Linked DNA regions of Homo sapiens: regions 2, 3, 4, 5, 6 and 7 are each linked to region 1. The links are contacts of gene promoters, found by promoter capture Hi-C in blood cells and fetal thymus (Javierre and others, 2016). All regions are on one chromosome and are shown on one strand. The core of a region is centred on a gene start or on the middle of the fragment in contact, and the rest is flanking DNA. Distances in the headings are between cores, read along the strand shown. Region 1 holds the start of HEY2 (hes related family bHLH transcription factor with YRPW motif 2). Region 2 overlaps TPD52L1 (TPD52 like 1). Region 3 overlaps TPD52L1 (TPD52 like 1). Region 4 has its middle 59 kb from the start of HDDC2. Region 5 overlaps LOC102723341 (a long non-coding RNA gene). Region 6 overlaps LOC102723341 (a long non-coding RNA gene). Region 7 overlaps LOC102723341 (a long non-coding RNA gene).

Region 1 (3,011 bases), core at 371-2,870:
AAAATTGACAAACTTGATGTTTTGCATACTAATCTTCCAAAAATATGCCCTAAATATGCCACTGATAGGAAAATTAAAACTCATTTTATTACTAGGTGAATGTTTTACTTTGAAAATGAAACTGTAGGTGTGTCTCAGACTTTAGGCTAAGCTTAAATCTCCAGAAGCTGCAATGCACCTTGGATTTACTAATGAAAATATATTTTTATATTGAAGGTTCAATCAAAGTATTATTTGGTCACATAATTTTTACAATCCTTTCTAGTTTGTATCTGTTTCTCTTCATAATTCATGGATACTATGCTTCTTTGTGTTCTCAAATTCCCCAGGTTCCTGTTATTTGTTCTCTTTCATTTTAGAAATGCTGCACACACCAGGTTGCTATTACCTCACCTTCTCACTTCTGGATCTTATTTCTGAATTACCTGTCCCCCTCATTTTCACCCCTTCTTTACGGGTTTCACCTTTCACGTGATAGCTTCTGTTTTTCAGACCTCATTTTTAAAGACGGCACAACAACACTTTAATGATCAGATACTTAAACCTTTGCTTTCGTGTAAATATCTTTGCTCTTGCAGATTTTGTGCTTTGCTTTGTATGTATTAGAATAACAATATGAAAGAAAACCAGTTTTCCAAAGGTAGGAAGAATTTCCCTCTTTGAGTGACAGCTGCAGATAAATAATTAAGGTGCTTCTGGGGATGCCAATTAGAAGCAATTATCATTTGACCCGCCTTGGCTCTAAAATGCCTCGGTAATCTCCCTCTGTCACAGGAAAGTGGAGGTCTGGCTTCTGTGATTACGACGCCGATCTCTTCCAGACTTGAGAACAAGCAGTCAAAGAAATGATGCCCTTTCCGATGCTTACATCTGTCACTCACTCTTGCGTTAGCCAAGTCACACACGGTCAACCTGCAAAGTTCAACCTACGTAGCCTTGACATCGCAGGTTGCTTTAATTCCTCCAAAAATCAAGTTGTGATTTTGGTATCTCTAAAAATCAAAAATCAAATTGTTTTTATTTTCTCCTGATCTATTTTGAAAGTGCCCCCAAATACGGTTTCAGTGGCTGGGACATCGCCTGTCGCCCAGACGCTGCCGTTCGCGCGTCCAACTGTGACAGCCAGGACCCTCCCTCGCCAACTCCTGCGCTCTGCCTTTCAGTGGCGTCTCCCATCCTGGCTACTCCACCCCTACGGTGAAAATCCACATCCCTTGCCCCATCCCAACTCACGCTCTGCGAGCGCCCACCACTCAAACTTTCTCAGGCCAAACTTTCCCTCTCTACCTAGATGCTGCGGAGACCAGCCTCGGGATTTCCAGGGAGCCACGCATTCACAAAGCTACCCCAAGCTCCCGAGCTGCGGGCCGCTCCCGCGGAGCCCGCGCTCACCCCGAGTAATTGTTCTCGCTCCCCACGTCGATGGTCTCGTCCATGTCGCTCTCGGAGGTCGTCTCCTCGCAGGGGCGCTTCATCCCGGCGAAGACCGCGCGGGGCACAGCCCGGCCGGAAGCTCGGACGCCGAGCGGGGCGCAGCACCCTGACGCCCGCCTCCTCCCTCCCCGGGCCTGGGCAGGCGCGGCTCCGGCGGCGGCGCGGTCTGCTCCTAGCGGCTCTTTCCCACGCCGCAACTCTGCTCGGCCGCAAGAGCCGGCGCCGGCCACGCCCCCCCCTCGAGCGGGTGGGGCCACCTCACCCGCCCCCGCGCACCGGCCCAGGCCTTCCGCCCGGCACCTCCCCCTCGCTGGTCGGCGTGGCTCGCGATTGGCTGGGCCAGGGGGCGGGGCCGCGCTCGCCAATGCCCGCCGCAAGGCTCCAGCCGAGGCGTGGGAACGCGGCCGCGGACCTGGTACCCCAGAGCAGCGAGCGGGTGGGGAGCAGCCGGGGCGAGAATGAGCGCAATCTTGCTAACCCCTGCGGAGGGAGCGCGCGGGCGCCAACGCGGGCGCGCGGGGGCGGGCCCTGGACCTGGACCTTGGGTTTCGGCCCTCCTCCGCGCCCCGCGGTCTCGCGGGCGAAGTTTCAGTCCTGAGTGTAAAGAATAACCCCAAGCGCGTGGCTAAGTGCGAGCAGGCGCGTGTGACGTCGGGAGGCGCCGCGGCTCCTCGGCCGCCCCACTCGGTGGTCCCCTGTCTGGATCCAAACTGCTGACTGGCTGACCCGAGTGGTCACATTTGCCCTCTGGGGCTTTTGAAAACCTTAAATCAAAATTGCTTTTGAATCTGACAACTCCTGAGGCTACTTTCGCGGCCTCGGGGCTGTTTCATATAAGGACGCGAGTTTTCCTGATCAGGTCTGTCGGCCACGTTACGATTTCCAATTTGCGATCCATCAGTTACTTCCATTGGGTCTTCAGCCCCCAGGGACTGTGGATCCTAGACCCCGCGGAGAAGCCCGTGGACTGGAGCTGTGTCAGCTCTGATGGTAGGAAAGACTAGATCAATGACGCGGGCATTTCAGGACATAATCGTATATTTTCAAGTTCGAGTTTTTCGGGCTTGGATTATCCAGATAATTGCCTCCAGTCTCCTCCAGTCCCCCTGGTGTATGCACTCGCAGCCGCAGAGTTAGAGTCCGGGAGGTGAAGATTGGCGCTTGGAAATTAGATTTGGTTTCTAAAGTATGAATTCGTGTCCAACAGTTCGTGCCTTGGACAACGTGGGTTGTATAAAACTCAAGCTGTGTGTTTAAAACAGGTTTTCTAGCTGCTGGTTCTCTCCAAGTTATGTAGGACTTTTGAACTGGCCACCCCGCTGTGCGTCTGCGAGGGCAGGGACTGAGCGAGACCCAGCCAGGGGCGCCGGGAGACTGGCGGCGGCTGGGTTGGGGTCCAGCCGGAAACCACACGTTGGCAGGGCCGCTTGGTCAGTAGTGGAGAGAGCCTCTGAGAAAGGGCCGTCTATCGATCCCCAGACCCCTCCGTCACGGAGGGATTCATAGCTTCCTGGGGATCGGCCCAGGGCGTCCCTTTGACACTCCGTTCTCTGTCCACACAAGCCCGGCGCGGGGCG
Region 2 (3,011 bases), core at 273-2,772, 500 kb after region 1:
TTCTCCCAAAACCCTGTTATACTTGCATGCATATGGTATCTGTAAGAAAACATTATACCCTATGAAATCAGCTATGTAGGAACTGCCCTTTTTCCTCTACCCCTTCCATCTCCCACAAGTCATCCAGTCCTAAGTATGATCTCAGGCTCTAGTGAATATTTTCAAATATGTGCCTTGGTCTTCCCTAGGACAGAAATAACTTTATTAATGTGGTATTCTTTTTGTGAGCAGAATGGAATCTGTCTATAATATTGTTAGCATTATATGTTATTTATTAACACAATGTTTTTTTAGGAAGTATAAAAACATACATTAACTAGATCATAAAACCAAATGTTCATTTACTGAACAGACATTTCCTATCAAAAATGAAAAGACCAAGCAGAATAAGGGTCAAGGAAGAATCTGGTGACTAGGGGGTAATTTGTGTCTCTGGAGAGGACTGTGTGAGGAGAACAAGGAATGTGGATGCCAGATGGCACTGGGTCAAACAGCAAATGAGACAAGATGAAAGAAATGAACAGCTTTTAGGAAGTTTGCTTAATTTCTTTTTTTCTCTGAAGGTCCAAAAAATGTCAGCTCATTCAAATTAAATTTTATTTTTACATTTTGCTACATGATTTTAGCTTTTAATTTTGGAAAAACATTTTTTGACTACATGAAACCATGGAATTTCAGGCAGTTTATACATGAAATCAAATATTATTATCAAGGAGACAGGCAGAAGATGGCAGATAGGAGACAGGGCTAATGTGCATCTTGCACTTGCTCAGACAGAATAGTGTGTGGAGACTCACATCATGAACTTTTGTTCCAAGAACCACCATAGGAACTTACCAGGAACACCGAAAGAATTCACAGATCCTTTGAAAGGAGTGGCACACCACTGCAAATTCTGAGAGACGGGTGAAAAACTGAGTTCCTAGAGTGCGAGAGGAGAGAAAACCTGCCTCTGAACCCACTGCCTCTGAACCACCTGCCTCTGAATTCCACTAGGGAATCTGAAAATCCAGATCACAGGAGAGGGATTTAACCTAAATTAGAGCTGGAATGGATTCAGGGATCTGGGTGAAATACAATAGTAGCAGCAATGGGAAAAGCCTTATAGGCACTCCCAGTTTCTCTAGCTTGAGCCCAGGGAAGGTATATAACTGTATCTCACAGAGCGCCTCCAGGAAGGCAGCCAGTGGAATTAGGGAGGGGTCATGGGGTGAAAGAAGCTTCCAACTGAATTTTATAATAATTGCCACTGGGCGTGAACTTTCTTAAGCAGAATCTGGGGGGTGAGTGGAAACTGCTGCAGATATGAGGGCAGGAGCTACCAACACTGTGGGCAGACAGGTAGGGGCGAGGCCTGAAAGCTGTGCTTGCTTTCTCAGCAGGGAAGCCTATGGCCTGGGGCAGGTCTGAGTTCATTGTGCACAGGCTGCCTGGATGGAAACTCGGCTCTATTAGCAGAGCACTGCAGGAGTGAGACTGGCCTCGCCAACTGCGTGGGAGCTGGGTGGGGCCTTTTGCTACCAGGTATCCCCCACTTCCTTGATAAACTATATGACACAGCAGAGGCAGCCATAATCCCCTTTGGAAGGTAACCTCACTGGCCTGAGAACCACACCCCCCAACCCCCACAGTGGCTGCAGCAAGCCCTACCCAAGGAGAGTCTGACCCGCCCAAGGAGAGTCTATCCCTGCCCCCACTTGATGGTATTTCTCTACCTGCCGTGGTAGCAGAACACAGAAGACATAAACTCTTGAGAGCTTTATGGACCCACCTATTGCCTGAGAAACCAGAATACCTCCCTTGGACAATTTAGTGCAAGCTTAAATCCCACTGTTACTACTGCAGCTGGTGCCTTCTTGAAAACACCACCTCCTGGCTGGAGGCAGACCAACTCAGGCCATTACTGCAACTCATGACAGAATAACCCTGATCCCAGGAAGAAGAAAAGAACAGCTAATACTGCTGCCTGTAACATCCTGGCTAACCAGAGGTCCTGAGTCTGTCCACATGACGACTTCACTGCTAGCATAACCAGCATCTGAGAAAGCCGGCACGTTAAACCCAAGGATTCTCATAGAGTCTACTTCACTCCCCTGCCACCTCCACCAGAGCAAGTACTGGTATCCACAGCTGGGAGACCTGAAGACTGGTCATATCACAGGACTTTTTGCAGACATTTGCCAGCACCAGCCTGGAGCCTGGTAGTCCTGCTGGGTGGTTAGACTAAGAAGAGAAATAACAATCACTGCAGTCCAGCTCTCAGGATGTCCCATTTCTAAGGGAAGGGGGCGAGCACTACATCAAAGGATCACCCTATGGTACAAAAGAATGTGAACAGCAGGCCTTGAGTTCCAAATCTTTCCAGTGGTGGGAAGTTTCTCATAGCAGAGACACAATTGCAGTGCTGGGCACAGTAGGGAAAGTCTGTACCTCTACCCCAAACGGCAGGCATCCCCTGTGATTGTGTAGGACCTTAAAGAAGGGGTCCTTGTTTCCCCTGGCACTCTACTGCAGACACAGTTGGGCTTCCCCCAGAAGAATGGAGGCACCTATAGACAGCCTTTCTGGAACAATCCAGGGTGAGTGCAGCCCCACAGGAGGAACACACTCCAGATTCAAGCCTGCATGAGAGGCAAAGTCACAATTCTTCCCTACTTGGAACATCAACATTTCCATAGATGAAAAGAGGTGCCTGTCTTATCCGAATAGCCAGAACACTGGGACAGGAATAAGGCTGTGAGGTGAGTAGCTTTCCTGCTGACCTGGCAGGAGAGCTGAGGTAGCTCCCACTCCTCACCTTGATGAAACCTCAGCACATCTAATTGAGAGGTCCTCCAGCCAACTTCATCAAGGCTGGGACCTCAGCCCACCATTGGGTATTACATCTACCCACCTGCCTTAGCCACAACCAGTGCCTAACCAGGGATACCTCTCCTAATGGCCTAAAGTCAACTCAGTAAATAAAACAGTGGGAAAAAAGTTAAATAAATAAATAAAGGGTACACCATGAG
Region 3 (3,011 bases), core at 188-2,687, 480 kb after region 1:
GTGGTGATACATGCTCTGGGGGAAATGACTGATGAAGCGCTTTGTAAAAAAAAGCATCTCTGTACTCAGCATTTTCATTTAAGCAATTTGTCAGTCTTCACATTCAAAGGTGAAATGGGATGATTTCTGTGAAAGACATGATTTTGTCATTTTTGGTTTGCTTTAATTTATATATATATATAATGGATGGATATGTATTATATATATTATATATATAATGTGTGTGTACATGAATATACCCTCTGGTGTGAACTGAAAGTCAAGCAGAAATGTAGCATAAAGAATTTTACCATGCTTAGAAGTTATCAAAAGTAGCCATAAGATTTTGCCAAATATTGTTATAGTTTGAAATTACATTTGAATGCTAGGTTTGAAGAAGTTGTTTCACATTTCATATTAAGTCACTTTTCAACCTTACCACCATCTTCCTTTATCACACTACTTCCACTCAAATTGAATACTAAGTGAGAGGAGGACGATGGGGTTGATGTTGAACAACTTTAAAGCTTACACGTAATTTTGGAACAATGAACAGTGACAGAAGAGCCGTGTAGATCCCTGGGTTCCCTCTACACTGGCCACTGTGAACGGCATGGCATATCATGAAGACACATCCTAAAGCATGCACTTTGTTCTGTTTGCTATGGTTCAAGAACAGATTTCTAACAAAATGTGTAATTTAGAGTAAGATATGCAGATTGCATTGCTAAAATGACCTGCCAATAGTTGTAATCTTTTTTTGAGACAGGGTCTCATCTCTCTGTCACCCAGGCTGGAAGGCAGTGGCAAGATCTCGGCTCACTGCAGCCTCTGCCTCCCTGGTTCGAGAGATTCTCCCACCTCAGCCTCCCAAGTAGCTGGGATTACAGGGATGTGCCATCAAGCACAGCTAATTTTTGCATTTTTAGTAAAGACGGGGTTTCACCGTGTTGGCCAGGCTGGTCTCGAACTCCTGACCTCAGTTGATCCACCCACCTTGGCCTCCCAAAGTTCTGGGATTACAGGCATGAGCCACCATGCCCAGCCAATAGTTGTAATCTTTATGTGATGTGAGTTGTGAGATAAAGTAGCACTGTAAATTTACAAATATGTTCATCATAGCAACTGTGTTTAAAATGTGGTAAATCGTTAAATTTCAGAATGGCTTACTTTTTTTAAAAGCTAGTTTGTTTTGTAATCACAATTGCATCAGAATTTTTGATAATTGAAAGAATTGACGCCTGAGCCACTCGGGGATTAGGCCTGCACAGTCAAAAATCCGATTCTAGGTTGGGAGTTGTGGCTCACGCCTGTAATCCCAACACTTTGGGAGGCCAGGGCAGGTGGATCACAAGGTCAGGAGTTCAAGACCAGCCTGGCCAAGATGGTAAAATCCTGTCTCTACTAAAAATACAAAAATTAGCCAGGCGTGGTGGTAGGTGCCTGTAATCCCAGCTACTCGGGAGGCTGAGGCAGAGAATTGCTTGAACCCAGGAGGCAGAGGTTGCAGTGAGCCAAGATTGCACCACTGCACTCCAACCTGGGCAACAGGGTGAGACTCAGTCTCAAAAAAATAAATAAATAAATAAAACAAAAATCTGATTCTAACTTTGGACACCCCCTAAACCTAACTACCAACAGCTACTGTTGACCATAAGCCTTGTTGATAACATAAATGGCCAATTAACACATATTTTTATGTTATATGCATTACATGTGGTATTCTTACAATAAAGTAAGCTCTGGAAACAAAATGTTAAAAGAAAAACAACAGAGATAATATATGTACTATTCATTAAGTGGAAGCAGATGATGATAAAGGTCTTTATCCTCATTGTCTTCATGTTGAGTAGGCTGCAGAAGGGGAGAGGTTGGTATCACTGTTTCAAGGGGTGCCAGAGGCAGAAGAAAATCTGCACATAAGTGGACCCTCACAGTTCAAACTCCTGTTGTTCAAGGGTCAACTGTACATTTTCTGTGGAGGTATCCTTTCATACACACATGGTGTTGACCTGAAGTCATTTTGGTTTGTTAGTAAAAGGTTATGTCCATTGTGTGCAATTACTTTTTAGGACTTGTGAAACACTTTAAACTACTGCTTGTGAACTGAGCCTCACTAGATGTAATTGAGAAGCTCAGCAATCAGTCCCATCAGGATGATCTTGCACACCCATGGTGAGGGAGGACCAGGCAGCTCTTAGTGATGCTCCTGAAGCTAAGAGTAGGCTCACTGCCTAAACTAGGTAAGACTGCCCACCTACCAACAAGTGTTTGATTTATCTAATCTGAGTTATTCACACACATTTTATGACAAAAATAAAAAATGCTACTTATGCCATGGCCATTATGAATATCACTTCTAGGTCAGAGTGAATAATGAAAAGCTTTTAGATGAATAGAGATGATGTGCATAAGATTCTTACCAAACTAATGAAATCAGAATTTTGATGAATGGAATAAAATAAATAGCTAAAATGTGTTGGAAGCTTTAAGATATTACCACAAGTTTTCTTGATTGTTTTTCTATCCAATTCTAATATTGTGTTTTCAGATTATAAGGCTGAGACTATGGTGTGCAGAAATTGGTTGGTGAACGGAGATATTTGTTTAAAGTACCATAACTTTATCTAATACAATGCGGTGTGCTGAATATGGTAAAAAAAGAAGGTGGCAGGGAGTTTTCACAAGTTAGCCACTTCACACTCAACAGGCAGCTATAGATTGGGCACAGAGACTGAGTACTTGTGTGCTGTGGTGGGCGAGCCAGCACGGCCTGAGAACCAGCTGGGCAGGGTTGGTTTCCTGCCTCTACTTCAACCAACAGGCTGGAAGCACAAATAAGGGAGAATGCCAGCATCCCTGCTAGTGAGCTTTCTTTGTCTACATTTGTCCACTCTGGTCAAGTTTACAGCCCCATTCTCTCTGCTAAGATTCCAGGCCTCAGAGATGATGTTGTCCTGAACCACCTTGATTTTCAGTTAGGTGTACAGATTGCACAGATTGTCATGCTCCATTAATTTGAGTAGAATTTT
Region 4 (3,011 bases), core at 276-2,775, 390 kb after region 1:
GCATGATTTTCTATTCTCTATAGCAAGATGTGCACCTCCTTCGTCTGACATTGAAGGTTCTGCAACATCTTTATTGACCAACTTTACTTGCCTTTTCGCTATTCAAACTTCTTGCTTCAGTCAAAATAACTACCAAAAATTCCCTGAAAATGCCTCATCATTTTTCTGCCTTTGTGCCATGTGATTCATAAGACACTTTTCACCTGTCTATTGAAATTGTATCCATCCTTCGAAGTCCAGGCCAAGTGTCCCTTTAACTATGAATATATTCCCAGTCTCTCAGAGAAAAAGTTACATTTCTTCCCTAGAAATACCTAACACTTGCTTACATGAGTTAGGTATTTCTAGGGAAATTATTTCACATAGTTAATAATTTGTCCATATATCTTATCTGTCCACATCTCCTCTGACATACCCTGAAAAAGGTGGATGAAATGATTAGCTGCTTGCTTAATTGATGCAGCCTTGAAAATACTCATAAAGTGCCCATGAAATGCCCAATAATGTTTGAAACTATTTGTTTATGAATGAGGTACTTAAAGCAAACTAGGGCACATTTTAAAGTGTCAAAGTAATAATCACATCTGTTCCCCAGCTCCTCTCAGTGTTTTCCTTGGCTTTCTTCCTGCCACACCTACTTTTGACCAAGGGCATGCATTTGCGTAGTCCGTAGCCATGGAAGGACTAAGGAGATCAGCTAATATTGGAATACTGGGCTTAGTGGTGCTAGGCAGAAGACAAATGAACCAACCAAACACAAGTAACAAGGGTTTATGGTATGGTCTATAAGCAAAAACATTTAAATCTCAAAGTAGAACCATTTAAGAATACTGAAAAACCTCTTCAGCGATTAGATTTTATTTAATACAAGCAAAGTAAAAAACACGAATGCCTCAATATGAAATGGCTGAAAAAAATTTCCAAAGATTGATGTTCTCCCAGAAATGATTTTTTGAGCTTAATTTGCTTACCTGAACTTTGAGATAAGACAAAATCTAAAGGTCTCTCTTCAAAATGTGTTGTAACCAGAAAGCTCTGCAAACCCATGTGGAACTAAATAGTAGTATTTCTGAGGTTAGGCTGTCTGTGTGCTTTCTGGGCTAGAAGGTCAAACTTGAGTGATATGTGAAGGAGAGAGGAAGAAGCAGTATTGCGCAGTGGTCACAGTGATAACCGTGGTCTCAGGGTCAAAGGCGATGGGAATGCTGCATAGAGAGGGGAGCTGTAAGTAAGGCTTTGCAGAAGAGGAATGAGTGGTTTGACTAAAACAAATAGAGAAATATGCTCTGAGGGCATATCAGGTAGGTTTGCACTGCTAGAGATGAAGGCATGGCCTTGGGTGTGGGAAGAGATAAGAGAAATTAAGTAGAGTGGAGTCTTTGAAAAATATTAGAATGGACACTTGGTTATTTTAATTTTACTGGAGCAGTAAGTAATAATAAAGCTTTCTGTAAAAAGACCTAATCACATTCAGCCACAGTACAGGCCCCATCCATTGATGAGCATTACCAAAAGTGTATGAAGAGATAGGTGAACTAAACAGATATGCTAAAATTTAAGGAGATACCCCTGTTCTTTGGAAACATGGAATTTTGTTTGAAGCTTTTATTAGAAAAAAATCCAATTTCAGTAAAATCAAATGTCAGAGCATTATAGAAAATATCTTCATTTTATGCCCCAGGATTGCTGCTGTTAACAGGTGCGGGTACCTCCAAAGAGTTCTTCTGCATAAGCAAAGATATATATGTCTATACCATTTGCATGCAAATAGAATCATGCTACCCATACTTCTCTGAAACTTGCTTTCATGCTTTTAAAATATGAGAACAACTTTGTAAACTTATACATAACAAATTTGCTGTCATTAAAGAAATGATAAAATGAAATTGTATTGAATGAATACACTATAGTTCATTTAATTGCAGATTAAGGTGGTACTTTTCTAGGTTTTGCTTTCCCACGTTAGGAAAACAATTACGATTTGTATGTTCTTTTCAGTAATATCCATCAAAAACTACAATAAAAATAGGGCTTCATTCCTCTTAGAGGTTTTATTTTTTTCTTTCTTGAATAAAAAATAAAAAGAATATAAAAATACATTTGAAGAACAATTTAGACTAGTGCTAAGCAGGTAAACATCAGTAGACATAAATAAGTTTATAATTTTTTAAAGCTAATTGACTTAGGAAAAGCTGATTTAAAAGTGGTAAGACCACTCCAGGATACACAAACATTCAAAATGTGTGAACTAATGGTGAGAAATTGTCATTTTTAACCAGTGAGTTTTCAAACAATTTACTGGGAGGCACAGACAAAATTTGAAAGAAACTTATAAAAACCTAATTATATAAGCTAAGCAGATGTAGCTGTCTGAAAATTAGTAGTGCTTTGCTTTATCAAAATTCTTTAAAAAGCATGGAAGATTAAGAACTGTCCCAGCAGTCACAAAAATGATCAAAACACCCTATAATTTTTATTAATAACACAAGATCAACATAATACTTACTGGGGAAAATTATAAGTATGTGGAAAAACAGAAATTAGAATTATTAAATTTGACTAGCTTATCAGTTTACCAGCTGTGAAGTATCTCCTCGAGTCAGAATATCTCAGTGCGGTTACCACATGTACTGATTACAACTGGTACAGAGAAAACCTGACATACATCCCACTTACTAGTGTTCTGGAGTAACAAACCAGATGGTGAGCATAGTTGATATCTCAGTTGTCCCAAAAGATGTAAATGTACAACCTGGTACTGCTAGAATAGGAGATAGGGGTGTGTACCATAAGGAAGCAAGGAGAGAGATATGATAAATTGATTCTTCTTCTTTTTATTTTTTATCTTCTTCTTTTTCTCCCCCTCCTGTTCTCCCTCCCTCTTCTCCCTCTCTCTTCTCCTCTTTCTCCTCCTCTTCCTCCTTCTACTCCTCCTTCTTCTTCTTCTTCCTCTTCTTTCTCTCACCCCCTCTCTCTCTCCCTTTGGAGAATAAGAGTATATATGAATTGTT
Region 5 (3,011 bases), core at 288-2,787, 370 kb after region 1:
TTAAATTTTGAACAATAGAAGGCAAGCACTACTCATTTCTAAAAAGAAAGCTTGCGCTTTTGAGGATGAAAAGGTTTGAGTTAATTGTAAACCATGTAATCATATGGTTATTTTTTAGCTTTAAACTAATAAAATAATGGTGCCTTCTTATCACGGTAGGCAGTGCGTCAGTCTCATAAACTAATACAACATTTTGCTCTACAATACATTTGAGGTGTTTTCTACATCAAGAATTTGCCTCACACTGACAAAATAATTGTGCAACATATATTCGTTGAAAAGCTATAAAAGACAGGACACTGGGCTGGGCTTTATGAGAGCACAACAAAAATGAAATTAGAAAAGTTGGGGAGAAATATTTTTTAAAACTTTCCCTCCAATTCCCATCTCTCCCGTGAAATATGTTGGAAAAATATTTTTCTTCCTTGCTTATATGGCACCCGAACTGTCAATCTCTGAATACCAAAAATTAAAAATTTCTGGAAAAAAATCATTTTATATAACCTACTTTTGTTCTTCAAACTAAAAAAATCATTTTAGATTTGCTTTAAAACTACTAAAACTTATATTTTGTATATATTCCAACTTTCTTAAATGGTCAAGGATCTTAAAACATTTATTTCCTGCTTCTAGAATTTCAAAAAATCTTATCTTACTCTTAGACTTACTCAATATGCACATATATGAGAGCATTTAAAGCAAGTAATATCTGACAAATTAGTGATGTTTTAGAGCATCTCCAGTTCACTACCTTTTACTCCAAGAATGTCAAGTTCTTGAGAGAAGAAATTTTCATCTGTTTTGTTCACTACTATATCTCCAAGGCCTGGGACAGTGAATGCACAGCACATAGTAGGTGCTCAGTAAATTATGTGTTAATCGAAGGGATGACTGCACACTTTGGGAGAACGGGGTTGGGATTTTGCTAACATTTTTACTCTCACTATCCTGCCATCATGTGTAGATGAATGTGGAGTAGATACTCTTTCCTGCTGATATAATGATTCCAACTTTCAACTCCTGTAAAAGAATTATATTTTGCTTTAAATAGAAATAAATGTGAAAATATTCTCAAAGGCCTGAACTCAAAAGGAAGAAAAAAACCCTTTCCCAACCTGTTATTTACCTTAATCTTCTTTAGAGTGAGTCTTTGCGATCCTCAGTCCCTTAAGCACTTTCTAAAGATGAACTAGATCAGATTCAGGAAGATGAAAGGAAGTCAAAGCCTCAGATTAAAAAACTAGCTAACGCCCAAATAGTGGCGCTGGGCTGCAGTGTGTGCACGCAGGATAACAGCAAGTTACTCTTAAGAAGCTAAAAGACATTTGCTTGTTGGGTCTTATTGTGGCTTTCTTTCCTCCTTTGTTCCTTCCCTCTCCTCCCCTACTTTTCTTTCATCCCCCCTTCTTTCCTCCCTCTTTTCAGTCTTTCATCCTGATCTCAGGGCTTTCTAAGAAAATTGGAACCTTTTGGGCAGGGCATTTCTTCCCATATGTTATATTCCACTGTAAGACACACACATAGAAATCAGTACTGGATTACTTTTCTCTGGAATTTACTTCTAGAAAAGAAGAATGATTTTTTTGTTAAATGGCTAATGTCAGGATTTTTTTTCTCCAAAAACAACTTTCAATTTTTATCTTTAGATTGGTACACACTTAGGGCAAAAATCTATCCTTTCCTTTCTTCTATAACCATATCCACACTTCCTGAACAGTAAGAATTAGTTTTCATAATTTGGAAATACAAATTTATATATTTCTTCAACAGTTTACAAAGATCCCATTTTAATCCTCACAATAACCCTATACAATTATAACTCAATACAAGGAAAGAAAATATTATTACTACCCCATAGGGAAGTCCCTGCATTTCGCTCATAAATAAGCAAAAAACATCTTGAAAATCACATCTGATGTTTGTTGAAATTTCTGAGGCAGTTAGATGTGGGTATGAACCAGGGAATGTGTTTTCTTTGAATTCCGTAGCTCTTCTACTCATTTCTTTATATTCTTTTTATTTCTTAACCATATGTTTTTGTACTGTATTAATGAAAAACTGTGGGATCCCTTGCTGGGGGGATTAGACTTGAGGGAACTTGTTCTGTGTTTAGGGAGGGAGAGGGAGTGCTTTCTGCCTCATCTTTCTATTGTGCCCATCACGTTTCTTGGTGCCAATTCTGGGGAGGGTATGAATTGGTCATAATTGATTCTATTATAACAAGAACATGCTTTCTTTAGTACCAATACTATTTTTATTTGTTTAAATGTAGCAAGGTTTATGTTATTTGATCACGTTAAATTAAATGAAAATTATTATGCCTTGAGAAACAAATTTTAGCAAAATGTATAGAAGTTATTTCTAAATTCTTTAAATATAAAATGTTAATGAGAATCCACTCAGTGCTGAGACACAAGGGGAGTACTTAAATGAGGTTGAAAAACTTTCAGTTCTTTTTGGAGGGTTATGATTTTATTTAAATTCTTGTGATCCCTCAAGTAGCTCCTTCTGCTGTTCTTCCCTATTTTTCTCTGTCCTTACCTCTCCTCTTCAGGGTAATTTGAGAAGGCGAGTAAAGGAAAAGAAACATTATTCTAATTCTCCACTAAAATTCCATCCACATTTCGCTCCCTACTAATCTCCCAAAGAGAACAGCGTTAGCTCAGTCCCTGTTTTCACCAAGACATCTCTATGATGCTATCTGACCTCTTGCTTTCCAGATGTCATTGGAAGTGAAACCATATGTGGTTTTCTAATGACTCAGATTCAGCCCCTCTTCCATGAGAAGTCAGCCTGAGCAGCATGGGGGCCCGTATCCCTCATAAGAAAAGGAACATGAGATAAAACTCAGTCACTCCTCTGCTTTGCCCAAGAAGAAAGGGAGGGGAGTTGCGCCACATCTTGTGGGGTGGCAAAATATTTCTCCTCCAGTGTAAACATTGCGCATCCTCTTTCTCAGGGCCAGCAGCCTCCGTTGTTTGTTGTTGCTGTTGTTTGTGTTTAACATAGCC
Region 6 (3,011 bases), core at 224-2,723, 350 kb after region 1:
TGGGGGGTGCCTTCCAGATAGGCTACTTGGGCGTCAGGGGCCCACTTGAGGAGGCAGTCTGTCTGTTCTCAGATCTCAAACTGCTAGCCACCATGAATATTATATAGTACTATAAATGCTTGACTGTACATAGTACGTATAAAACCAAGTCTCACAATAATCACCTTGCAAACATGCTTACAAGCAAGAACTAGAATACCTTGACTAACTATAACACATTAAACCCACCAACCAAGAGAAATCCTTCACCACAAGCATACCAACCAGTATGCTTGGAGAACCACTACTCTCTTCAAAGCTGTCAGACAGGGACATTTAAGTCTGCAGAGGTTTCTGCTGCCTTTTGTTCAGCTATGCCCTGCCCCCAGAGGTGGAGTCTACAGAAGCAGGCAGGCCTCTTTGAGCTGCGGTGGGCTCCACCCAGTTCGAGCTTCCAGGTCACTTTGTTTACCTACTCAAGCCTCAGCAATGGCGGACGCCCCTCCCCCAGCCTCACTGCCACCTTGCAGTTTGATCTCAGACTGCTGTGCTAGCAATGACCGAGGCTCCACGGGCATGGGACCCTCCAAGCCATCTGCGGGATATAATCTCCTGGTGTGCCCTTTGCTAAGACCATTGGAAAAGCGCAGTATTAGGCGGGGAGTGATCCGATTTTCCAGGTGCCGCCTGTCACAGCTTCCCTTGGCTAGGAAAGGGAATTCCCTGACCCCTTGCACTTCCCAGGTGAGGCAATGCCTCACCTTGCTTTGGCTTATGCTCGGTGGGCTGCACCCCCTTTCCTGCACCCATTGACCAACAAGCCCCAGTGAGATGAACCCGGTACCTCAGTTGGAAATGCAGAAATTGCCCATCTTCTGCATCACTCATGCTGGGAGCTGTAGACTGGAGCTCTTCCTATTCGGCCATCTTGGAACTGCCCGAAACATGAAATATGTTAATTCTTCCCAAAGTTATTTATACATTTATTCAAGTCCAATAAAATTTCACAAGGTATACATTTATGACATTAAAAATTTTGTAAACTTCATTTTGAAGAATAAAGAGACAAACTTAGTCAAGAATATTTGGGGACAAAATGTTTTAAGAAGTTTGAAAAAGAGTAGCTAGGGAAGAACTTATGTTATAAGGTATTAAAACTTTATATAAAATTTAATATGGTGCTAAAATCAGTAGACAGATTGATGTAACAAAATACATAGGCCTGGTGTTGACTGTAATATATAAGAACCTAATATATGATGAAAGAAACATCCTAAACCAATGGGGAAAATATCTTTGAACCAGTATTTTCACTGTCTGAAATTCATTCTAAGAAGTTAGTAAAAGAGAAAGTAAAAAATTCCTGAACAAATAAATTAATCATAGCACTATTTAAAATAACAAAAGGTCAGAAAGAACTAACCCTTTTATAACAAAGCAGAGTGGTTAAATAAACTATAGCAGATCCATATTATGAAATATGCAGCAATTAAAATTATATCTTTATCAATTTTATTGATATGAGTAAATAGCTATTATAAAGTTTCAAGATACTATAGATCTAATATAATCATAAATGTACATCAGCTACATAATATGTATAAAATGACTGCAAAGATATAAACAAAAATCTTATAAATACATTTATATAAATGGAAAAAGTATGACATGTTTAAGTCTATTAAATAAAAATAACTATAAGGACGAATTACATAAGTTTATAAAATTATTAAGGGAATATATAGAAAAGTGAACACTGACTTTTCTACTAAGTCCTAGAATTAGGAAGGTCCTCCTCAAATCTTGAACATTGCACACCTAGAAAAAAAATTCAGAGCTGCTTTAAATTATGGGTATTGTAGATGCCACTGGAGATGGATTCTAGCCTTGAGAAAAGTCATTTTGGATAATTATACTGCTATATATTACCACAGTCACAAATAGTTCATAGCCACATTTCAAGTACAGATGATTCAAAAAGTTTTTAATGTAAATGGAACTTTAAAAGTTATTTTCTCCCTACTACCTTTATCTCTTTAAACACATCTGGTATCTACAGATAAGATACAAAAACAGATTCTTAATATAGTTTGGCTGGGTCCCCACCCAAATTTCATCTTGAATTGTAACTCCCACAATTCCCACATGTCTTGGGAGGATCCTGGTGGGAAGTGATTGAATTATGGGGGCGGGTCTTTCCCGTGCTGTTCTCGTGATAGTAAGTCTCACGAGATCTGATGGTTTAAAAAAAAAAAAAAAAAACAGGGGTTTGACTGCACAGGTTCTCTCTTTGCCTGCCACCATCCAAGATGTGACTTGCTCCTCCTTGCCTTCTGCCATGATTGTGAGGCCTCCCCAGCCACGTGGAACTCTGAGTCCAATGAAACCTCTTCCCTTTGTAAATTTCCCAGTCTTGGGTATGTCTTTATCAGCAGCATGAAAATGGACGAATACAATTCTATTGCCAAAATTATATTTTTATCTTTTAGAAAAATAAATGTAAATTTAGATATGCTCCTGGTTAGTAGATGCTATAAAAATTATTTGATATATTTTTTAGCATTAATTTATATGCCCCTAATCTAAATAGGGCAAATTTCATCAAATCTTCTTCAAACCAAAAGATTACATAAATAGAAAAGATTTGCATTATAATTATAGAAAAGACAGAGTTTTAAAAAATTATCTTGAACTATTATACACAGCTAAAATTTTAACTTTACCTGAACACATGGCATCACAGAATACCCTATTTTTAAATTTTGTCCCATTAAATTTGCTTTGACAGGCAAAATCCAGCCATCTCATTAAGTTTTCAGTTTTTATTAGGACCCCAAGTGTGATTTTTAAATAAAATGGTTTTAATTTAAAAAAAAAAACCAGAAAAGTGAAATTTGAACTGTACCTCTACCCTTAATCTCCATCTCAGAGAAATGATTCCACAATGTCTTTTACCTGTTAAAGAGCAATCGCCTAAAAATAAAAACATGCTTCCCCACTGCAGCCAAGAAAGCTTCTGTTCTAAGAAAAAG
Region 7 (3,011 bases), core at 306-2,805, 340 kb after region 1:
AGTCCAATTAAACTTCTTTGTTTTGTAAATTGCTCAGTCTCAGGTATGTCTTTATCAGCAGCATGAAAATGCACTAATACACTGACCAAGCTATTTACATTTTGCAATCTCAGAAAATTCTTTATGAGAAGAGTAAGAATTCTATGAAGACCTGTGACTAAAAACATGATGTGAAGGACAGCTCTGGCTAACATGGCTGTGCTGTCTTATTTATGTATAGGAGTTTTGTTTTTGTTTTTGTTTTTGTTTTTAGGACAAAGCTACCAATTTTTAACCCATTTATTCATTTGTTTTTAAAACAAATATCAAGTACCTGAGTATTACTCTTAGTTAAATTCAGAAAAGAAAACTGAGATTTCTGTTTCATATACACCTTATACACACAACCTGAAGGTAATTTTATACAATATTTTAAATAATTTTGTGCAGAAAACAAAATTTTGACTGTGTTTTGACTGTGAGCCATGATAGAAGATCAGGTGTAAAATTTTTCACTTTTGGCGTCACGTCAGTGCTCAAAAATTCTTGGATTTTGGAGCATTTTGAATTCAGATTTTCAGAACAGAAATGCTCAACTTGTGTAAGAGAGAGCAAGCTTACTTTTATATACTTGTATTTCTTTCTGTTAATGTCTTATTCGTGTTCTTTGTTCATTTTTAAATCATTTTTGTTGCTCTTGATTTATAATAGCTCTTTGTATATTAAGAAAATTAGCCCCCATCTGTCATATGCATCTTAAATATTTCCTATCTGTTCTGTGATTTTCATATTCTTATTTCTTATTTATTTTATACGTTATAGAACTTTAATATTATTATCCAGTCAGATTTGTCTTTTTTTTCATTTTGGATTCTTGGTTTTATGTCATCTTTAGGAAATCCTTCTCCATTTCATGATGATTTTGAAAAATCTAGTGCTTTTGTATTTTTAGTGCCTCTTTACATACGTGCATACATAAAATTATTATTTCTCACCACTGCAAGTGAAGTGTAACAAAAGCATGAAATGGTCAAAACTTGAAGGCAAGCACTGGCTCCGACACTTTGCTGTTTCATCAAGCTCTAGTCTTCAAGCTGTTGTCCTCTCTACAAAATGTAGATCAAGATAAACATTTCACAAGGACTTCATGGGGCTTAAATTATATTTGCAAATAAAAGAAATTTATAAACAAAAAAAATCGTACGATAGCTAACTATAAGCAATACTTAATAATTGAAATTAGTAATTGTTTATGCTATGGACTGAATGTGTCTCCCTCAAATTCTCGAGCTGAACTTCTAACTCGCAGCATGATGGTATTAAGAGCGGGGGCCTTTGGGAGGTAATAAGGTTTAGATGAGGTCATGAGGGCTAGAGCCTCCACGATGGGATTAATACCCTTCTAAGAAGAGGAACAAACACCAGAGCTTCCTCTCTGTGCCATGTTAGGATACAGTAAGAAGGTAACCATTTGCAAGATTAGAAGCAGGCCATTACCAAAACCCAACCATGCTAGACCCGGATCTTATGCTTCAGTCTTCAGAACTATGAGAAATAAATGTCAGTTGTTTGAGTTACCCAGACTTTGATATAGCAGCCTAAGCAGACTAATACAATATACTTGAATTTAATAATTTGATTAAAAGTTTCCAAGGACATATTAACGTGCGAAGGCAGGTCTAGTGTAGGAGTTTGAAATACATTACTCACTAGTGGAGAATGCCTATCCCTGGTCCTGTTGCTATTGACTCTGCATGTCATACATAGAGTCTGCTTAGATTCAGGATGATGAAGAAAGGAACATTTATACTTTTACTTATGATATGCCACTAGAATACACTTCATGTCAACACGAGGCAAATTAACCAAGAGATCAGACTCCAAATTCTGGAAATAATCATCAAAAGCTAAATGGTTTGCTTCCAATTCAACACTTCAAAGATGAGCAAATTAGTAAGCCGAAATAAAAGTTTAAAAACCTCATCAGCGTAGATGAAAGAGAATTTTCCAAGATTTTGAAAAATTTAACCGGGTTCAGCTGACTTAAAGATTTTCATGACGTTTTCTTTTATTCAATTAAACCAAATACATGACCATCTTTGATGCGTTAATGTTTTGGAGGTATCCTCCAGCTCCAATACAGTCTTATTGTCATTATGAAGTAAGAGTTTCTGGGTCTTTTAACATAATTAAAAAGATGGGCTCCAGGCTCTGTCTTGGAATATAAAAGCTCATCTCATGGTACTGGGTGTATTCTTGCATTTTAAGTAAGATCTAGTTGGTTCCTTCTCCAAACTTGAGGAGAAAACGTAAGTTCTATGGTCATAAAAATAAAATTTGGTTCAATTTTTCCCTTTCCATCTAGGCTGCCCTAGAGAATGATCTGGACAGTCCAGCAACTGAGCTTGCAGATGTGGCAGCCAAAAGCAGCCTTTTGGACATCTGCATGAGATGCTGGCCTTCATGGCAGCAGAAGGCCATGAGGAGTCTTGAGCAGCAGAGGCACTTTCCCACTTTCAACCTCCTTTAAGCTTTAGTATTATTGGTCTGTGTGGCCCCAGGAAGAGCTATTTCTTCTCATGAAAGGAGGACACAGTCTCTTTTCCTTTCCTCTTCTCTGCTGTTGCCCTTGCCTGCCTTGTTTTTCTGGTACTGGGAAGTGCCCGGCTCCTCCCTTCCTCCTGGGAGGAAACAAAGTCAATTTCAAAATGACATAGTTATCTATCATTTTCTCCAAAGAACATAAAGCATATTTCTATGAAATTTCTTGTTGAATAGCTCTTGGAAACATAGATGACAAATACTAAGTTTTCAAACACGAAAAGTTCTAGCAAAAGGCTATCCAGGGACTTTCTGTAAGAGAAGAGTTTCAGAGCTATTTACTGAGAGGTGTGAATGCTTTCCTATATCACATCCCATTTACAAAATTTCTGCAATGGTAGTCTCTCTGTTCCTGTACATACAAATAAGCCAGAATACTTTTACAAATTAAAAACTGGGGTAGTAAACATAAAGAAAAGAAGTACTCCGGG

Evidence for each region. The method cuts DNA at HindIII sites, captures the fragments that hold promoters and counts their contacts. A CHiCAGO score of 5 or more calls a contact.
Region 2: a contact is called between a fragment that was not itself captured here and the fragment with the promoter of HEY2 in region 1, in 1 of 17 cell types (total CD4 T cells). The highest score is 5.6, in total CD4 T cells.
Region 3: a fragment that was not itself captured here is called in contact with the fragment with the promoter of HEY2 in region 1 in 12 of 17 cell types (non-activated CD4 T cells, fetal thymus, total B cells and 9 more); the score reaches 10.7 in non-activated CD4 T cells.
Region 4: a contact is called between a fragment that was not itself captured here and the fragment with the promoter of HEY2 in region 1, in 15 of 17 cell types (total B cells, naive B cells, megakaryocytes and 12 more). The highest score is 34.3, in total B cells.
Region 5: a fragment that was not itself captured here is called in contact with the fragment with the promoter of HEY2 in region 1 in 7 of 17 cell types (naive B cells, total B cells, megakaryocytes and 4 more); the score reaches 9.6 in naive B cells.
Region 6: a fragment that was not itself captured here is called in contact with the fragment with the promoter of HEY2 in region 1 in 4 of 17 cell types (megakaryocytes, naive B cells, total B cells and 1 more); the score reaches 13.8 in megakaryocytes.
Region 7: a contact is called between a fragment that was not itself captured here and the fragment with the promoter of HEY2 in region 1, in 4 of 17 cell types (total B cells, naive B cells, endothelial precursors and 1 more). The highest score is 7.8, in total B cells.

The regions. Positions count from the first base shown.
Region 1 is chr6:125,748,241-125,751,251 of GRCh38, reverse strand. HEY2 (hes related family bHLH transcription factor with YRPW motif 2) reads right to left here and starts at 1,620. Exons shown (of 5, transcript NM_012259.3): 1 at 1,393-1,620. The coding sequence starts at 1,475. HEY2-AS1 (HEY2 antisense RNA 1) reads left to right here and starts at 1,827. Exons shown (of 5, transcript NR_183491.1): 1 at 1,827-2,293. RefSeq lists a silencer at 1,402-2,111. The HindIII fragment of the contact is 5,509 bases long and covers 154-3,011 here.
Region 2 is chr6:125,244,212-125,247,222 of GRCh38, reverse strand. All of the region lies in intron 3 of TPD52L1 (TPD52 like 1), which reads right to left. Among named protein-coding and RNA genes, the nearest start is that of HDDC2, 56 kb to the left of the region's middle. The HindIII fragment of the contact is 599 bases long and covers 1,223-1,821 here.
Region 3 is chr6:125,264,393-125,267,403 of GRCh38, reverse strand. TPD52L1 (TPD52 like 1) reads right to left here. Exons shown (of 7, transcript NM_003287.4): 7 at 2,997-3,011. Among named protein-coding and RNA genes, the nearest start is that of HDDC2, 36 kb to the left of the region's middle. The HindIII fragment of the contact is 1,857 bases long and covers 509-2,365 here.
Region 4 is chr6:125,359,626-125,362,636 of GRCh38, reverse strand. No RefSeq gene overlaps it. Among named protein-coding and RNA genes, the nearest start is that of HDDC2, 59 kb to the right of the region's middle. The HindIII fragment of the contact is 158 bases long and covers 1,447-1,604 here.
Region 5 is chr6:125,377,658-125,380,668 of GRCh38, reverse strand. All of the region lies in intron 1 of LOC102723341 (a long non-coding RNA gene), which reads left to right. Among named protein-coding and RNA genes, the nearest start is that of HDDC2, 77 kb to the right of the region's middle. The HindIII fragment of the contact is 2,970 bases long and covers 53-3,011 here.
Region 6 is chr6:125,393,825-125,396,835 of GRCh38, reverse strand. The region is part of intron 1 of LOC102723341 (a long non-coding RNA gene); the gene reads left to right. Among named protein-coding and RNA genes, the nearest start is that of HDDC2, 93 kb to the right of the region's middle. The HindIII fragment of the contact is 3,042 bases long and covers 1-2,994 here.
Region 7 is chr6:125,411,624-125,414,634 of GRCh38, reverse strand. All of the region lies in intron 1 of LOC102723341 (a long non-coding RNA gene), which reads left to right. Among named protein-coding and RNA genes, the nearest start is that of HDDC2, 110 kb to the right of the region's middle. The HindIII fragment of the contact is 1,915 bases long and covers 598-2,512 here.